Linked DNA regions of Homo sapiens: region 1 is linked to region 2. Evidence: promoter capture Hi-C in 16 types of primary human blood cells and fetal thymus (Javierre and others, 2016). All regions are on one chromosome and are shown on one strand. Each heading gives the region's core, a stretch centred on a gene start or on the middle of the fragment in contact. The rest is flanking DNA. Distances are from core to core; before and after follow the strand shown.

Region 1 (2,812 bases), core at 160-2,659, 150 kb before region 2:
TTTTTTGAGACGGAGGCTCGCTCTGTTGCCCAGGATGGAGTGCAGTGGCACCATCTCGGCTCACTGCAAGCTCCGCCTCCCAGGTTCAAGCCATTCTCCTGCCTCAGCCTCCCAAGTAGCTGGGACTATAGGCGCCCGCCACCACGCCCGGCTAATTTTTTGTATTTTTATTAGAGATGGGGTTTCACCATGTTAGCCAGGATGGTCTCGATCTCCTGACCTCATGATCCACCCACCTCGGCCTCCCAAAGTGCTGGGATTACAGGCGTGAGCCACCGTGCCCAGCCCTACAATACTCTTTATTATAAACTTGATACAGCCAAGTGACCCTCATGGAATGCTTTCAGTTGGCTTTTGACAAACTCTTATGCCCATGGCTGGCCAGTGGCTGCAACCAACAAACCAGCATAGCCCCCACATGAATGTTAGCTCCCATGTTCATCTTCACAGTTAAGATGAACGTGAAATGATGAAGATGAATGTTGGAACTTACTTGCTCCTCAATGATGTGAGTGACTTTTTGGCTGAATCAGATAATGGGTTTTAAATACCGGGATATTATTTTGTATTTTTTGGCTATTCATAATGTTATTATCAATGGGCACAACATACTTTTAATTTTAATCTACGTTATAAACATTTTCCCCATCACTTTATTAAATTTAGACCAGAGCTGTCCAGTAGAAATGCAATGAAAGCCACAGATATTATTTAAAATCTGCTAGTAGCCACATTTAAGGAATAGACTAAATTAATTCTAATATATTTGACATAATATATAGAAAACACTATTCTTTCAATAGATAATCAATATAAACATTTTTGATGATATATTTTACATTCTTTTCTTCCATTCTGAATCTTCAATATCCAGTACATATGACATATCTAAGCTTGGACTAGCCACATTTCAAGTGCTCAGTTAGCCACATGGAACTAGTGGCAGCTGTGTGAGGCTGTGCAGCTCCAGACAATCAACCAAACAATAAACCAAGCTCTGATTTGTAGTGCTTGCCAGTTCGCTTGGGGTAAATTCTCCCACAAAGGTGATTTCAAGCTACCAACATGATGTCACTGATTACAGGCTGGAAAGAGATGTGAACACCATGGTAGGGGATTTCTGCATGTAGATTCAATAAATGTCAACAACCACAAGAACTTTGATAATATATCAAAGTAAAGTATAATAAAATTAGAAAATGATGAGTTTTAAACATTTCTTCCCTTTGTTTTTAATGCAATGTATTTAACTATAATTTTACATAATTTAATTTGAATTATGGCTATGTTTAATAACAGCTCACAACGTTCTTCAAAATTTAACAATCGGCTTTTGCAAACCCTTTCAGTTTGCTCTACCACAACAGTAGTCAGATATAAGAACACAGGGAGGTCTTCAAATGAGACGTGGTTTTTTTGCAACGATCAAAATGGGATTTATGTTTAGTGAAACTTAACAGACACTTATTGAGGTACCATCTGGTACAGGGATGATGCTGGAGGGTTGGCGCAGGACAGGGTGGCTACAGAATGAACACAATGTGATTCTGGCCCTCAGAGGTATTAAGGTTCTAAGGAAGCACAGATGATCACAGTAATAATAATATGTGCAAGTTAAAATGGTGGCCCTGAGGGTTGTGGATCCCAGAGGTGGCAAGGTTAAAGGGCATTTGGGTTCCAGACCTGGCTCTGTCTCTAAGTCACTGCCTCATTTTGCCCTCAGTTTCCCTTCCTGTTAAATGAGGGGGTTGAGCTGGGTGAACCCCCAGGTTTCCGTCCAGCCTCCAAGGTGGGTCTTCCAATGTAGCGACTGAAGAGTGTGGCTTTCTGGATTAAAGGGCATTGGAGCTGGGCTTTAAAACACTGCCTTCTCCAATGTCAGGAACTGTGAAGGTAAAAGGGGCAGGAACATGAAAGAAGCTTTGGGAAGATGAGATCCCTGGGCTGAATGCAAAATAAAGAAGGAAGAGTAAAGGGGGTAAGTACCAGAGTTTTAGGGGTAGGAGTGATGTTAGAGTTTATCTAGAGATCTACTAGGCCAGGGCTTCAGATTACAGATGGGGAACCTGAGGCTTAGAGGCGTTAAATAACTTGCCCCAGGTGACGCAGCCAGAAGGTGGCAGAATCAGGTCCACGTGACTCTATACAGATAAGGATATATGCAATGTGTGCTTTTTATGCCCAAACTCACACCTTCGGGTGGCTATTCCATATAACAACTTATTTCTAAATGTTTGGGTCTAGGATAATCATGGATGAAACCAAAACTAAAATTTTTCTTCTTATATGAAGACGGTTGGGTCCAGGATGCTCAAAAGGATGTCCTGAGAAAATGGCATGGAATATGGGGCAAATTCTATGAAAATGCGTAAGGAAAATGTAAAAACTGATAAAGCTGATAAAGCAATTTGCTTACATGAGCCCCTGAGAAAGGTCGAGGTGTTTGGGTACCTCAGCTTTGCATCTGCTGTCAGGAGGCCCCAGCAGCTTCCTCTTTACATCTGAACGCTTAGCCCAGCTGGCCTGGTGTCAAGCAGAACACAGTCAGCAGGCCGGGAGCCCAGGCAGGCCTATCCCCTCCATGCTCCGAGACAAAGCCTCCACTTCTAAAATGTCTCCAGGCCAGTGGACCAAGAGGTTTGAGTCTCCCACAGACGGACCCAGTAGGCCAGGCTCAGTTGGAGATTTTAATTTTGGACTCGTCAGAGTTCCAGAACTCTGGAATGTGGCAGCATGGAGAGAATTCCCAGCTCCTGGCCTGCAGCCTGCCCCTTTCTCTTCCTACCCCTGGCTTTGCTCCCTTGCCTACACA
Region 2 (3,132 bases), core at 192-2,691:
TGAGAACTGAGGACAGACCATTGAATTTAACATGGAGGCCACTGGTGGTCTTGACGAGAAGTATGCACTTCTTATTGTTTTTCTGCTTCATTTCCCCCTTAGACATACAGCTGATAGCTGGAAAAAGAAAATACCGCACAAATGAGCTGGATGCTTCTGGTCAAAAGCATACATCCCCTTCCAAGTGGAATTGCAAGCATCCCAAAGAATCTCAAGCGTCCAGTCAAACATGAGTTCCCCTGGGCAAAGGATGCACTAGAATAGAAAAGGTAAACACCAGCCTGGCTCAGGGTCCTAAAAGAGCTGCAATATTGCTAACAATGATAATATTCAGCTGCTGAGAACTTTTCCTTTTCTATCCAGATGTATATTGCTTTGTGTCTCTCTATCCTAACCAAAGATTCATCAATAATTCAAGGAACCTAAATGGACAGGCCCATAAATCACACCTATGGTATATTTGGGGGCTAAAAATCATGTAGTTAGCTTTCTATACAGAAACTTTCCAATGCTTTGGCCTCAAATCATGCCACAAAGTGTTGACTGCTGGAAATCCTCAAGATAAATGTTCTGCTGGGCATGGTGGTGGATGCCTGTAGTCCCAGCTATCTGGGAGGCGGAGGCGGGAGGATCACTTGAGCCCAGGAGTTCAAGACCAGCCTGGGCAACTAGATCATGTCTCTAAAAAAAAAAAAAAAATTTAAGATAAATCTTCCCCTACTACCATGAAGATAGAGACTGTCTTTGTAATCTCTGTACCCTCAGCAGCAAGCACACTGCTGGATACATAGCAGGCACTCTAAAACTGTAGAATGAATGAATATCTCTGAGTGTCTCAAATCACAGATGTGTCTACACTAGCCCAAATGAGCTTTACTGTAGATTCAACTCTTGTATACTAAACAGCCATATTGGATAAAACATGGCAGAAGGTTTTTTGATGATTTAATTGATTTGCAGAAATGCAACAAACTGTATTTTCTCCATATCACTTCTTACTTGGAGATGTGCACACACTCCCACCTCTTTAGGGGGTTATATCTTCATGGATGCATCCCATGTGAGCCTCTTGCTGGAGCTGTCGCCATCCTAACTTTCTGGTGGTTAGCCACACTCACAGTGAAAAAACCTATTGCATTTATGACCAAAGCAAATTAATGTCCCCTTAATGGCAATTGTGGTAGACTTATAGGGAAAAAAAAGACTATAATGTTTATATGTTTATGTGTTTTTAATGTTTATTGGTTTGCTGTTACAGCCCTCATCCCAATGAGACTAGGTGTGTCTGAGTTAACTCATTGTCAAGGAGGTTATAGGCATGCAGAGTTTCTGCTAACTACCCAAGCTCATAAATGCCTGCAAATGGATTTTTTCATTTTTATGGGGCCAAGCCTCAGATCACCACACACATAAAAGGGGTGCAAGGGTTCCACTGGCCTCAGAGGGACTCCCAGCTCCAGCTCACCCATTCTACACTTGCTCTTTTGCTCCCAACCAGGAAGCCATCATGTCTTGCCGCTCCTACCGAGTCAGCTCTGGTCACCGGGTGGGCAACTTCAGCTCTTGTTCAGCAATGACACCACAGAACCTGAATCGCTTCCGGGCCAACTCTGTCTCCTGTTGGAGTGGGCCTGGATTCCGGGGCCTTGGCAGCTTTGGTAGTCGGAGTGTCATCACCTTTGGATCGTACTCACCCCGGATAGCAGCTGTAGGCTCTCGGCCCATCCACTGTGGAGTCCGCTTTGGTGCTGGCTGTGGGATGGGTTTTGGTGATGGGAGAGGTGTTGGTCTGGGGCCTAGGGCTGACAGCTGTGTTGGTCTGGGCTTTGGAGCTGGCAGTGGCATTGGCTATGGCTTTGGTGGCCCTGGCTTTGGTTACAGAGTTGGAGGGGTTGGAGTCCCAGCAGCCCCATCTATCACAGCTGTGACTGTGAACAAGAGCCTACTGACCCCCCTCAACCTGGAGATTGACCCCAATGCCCAGAGGGTGAAGAAGGATGAGAAGGAGCAAATCAAGACCCTCAACAACAAGTTTGCCTCCTTCATTGACAAGGTACCTATGATAGCTGAATCTCTGGGTCTAGGAATATTACAGCCAAAATGCGCTAGAGTGCTCTTTCCCTTAAAAAGAACTGGCCCGGTTCTGGGGACTTGACCTTGACCTCAGATCTTTCAAGTGCCTACCTCAGGCATTGTGGTATGCTTTATGGGTTGCTCTGCTGCAGAGCAAGGCCAAGCCAGAGGACGAGCTGCATGGTGGGATAGATTCCGACAGTGTTGATATCTTCTGGAGGACAGAGGAGCATCCAGCCAAACTCGAGGGCATCTCGACAAACTAAGATGTTGCATCTGGTCACTTAGAAATGTCTCTGAAACAGGCTGGAAACACTGGGACTTTAGCCAGGTGTTGGCTGGTATATGCTTAAGAGGTTTTATTCTTTGAGATCCTTTTGTTCCTTATGAAGTTTTCATAGTTTCTGAGGCTGAGTGGCCTCATCTATTCAGGCTTAGAAAAGTAGAGAATGGAGTTGAGTAATTAAAAAAAGAAGAAGAATTCATACCCCCACATGGGGTATCAAAATTCGGCCAAGTTGCCTAGATTCAGGGAAATTGCAGGGAATGACCACTGGTAGTCACTGGCTTCCAGGCAGATGAGTGGGAACAGTGATGTGGATAACCCAAAAGAACTGACATCCCACACACCATGTCTATGTGGAGATGGAATGGTTATGTCTGAGAATGAAGGATAACCTCTGTAAGTTTTGGGTTCTTCCTCTCTAAAATGAGGGGCTGGGGTAAAGGGTCTGTAAGTTCTCTTCCAGCTCTACACATAGCCAATGGAATATCTGCGATGTTGGATAGGACTTACAATCTGAGAATTCCTACCTCCCAGTACCATATCCCACCCCAAATGTAGTTTACTCTGCTCCCCATTCTCTGCCAGGGATGCCTGGCATCAGTTTTCAGATATAGGCAAACCAGAGCTTAAATAGAATCAACCCTTCCAACTTCCTGATGTACCAGTGTACAGCTTTCTTAGAGACTGGATAGGGGAATGGTACTGAAGTGCTATGGTTCAAAACCCCATATTGGTAACTAGGCCTAGCCGAGCACAAGGAGGGAGTCACAACC

Evidence for each region. Contacts are between HindIII fragments. The CHiCAGO score rates a contact against its expected background, and 5 or more counts as called.
Region 1: a fragment that was not itself captured here is called in contact with the fragment with the promoter of KRT84 in region 2 in 2 of 17 cell types (M2 macrophages and M0 macrophages); the score reaches 7.1 in M2 macrophages.

Annotation. Positions count from the first base shown.
Region 1 is chr12:52,533,977-52,536,788 of GRCh38, reverse strand. No RefSeq gene overlaps it. Among named protein-coding and RNA genes, the nearest start is that of KRT5, 15 kb to the right of the region's middle. The HindIII fragment of the contact is 1,027 bases long and covers 896-1,922 here.
Region 2 is chr12:52,383,961-52,387,092 of GRCh38, reverse strand. KRT84 (keratin 84) reads left to right here and starts at 1,441. Exons shown (of 9, transcript NM_033045.4): 1 at 1,441-2,053. The coding sequence starts at 1,508. The HindIII fragment of the contact is 9,508 bases long and covers 1-3,132 here.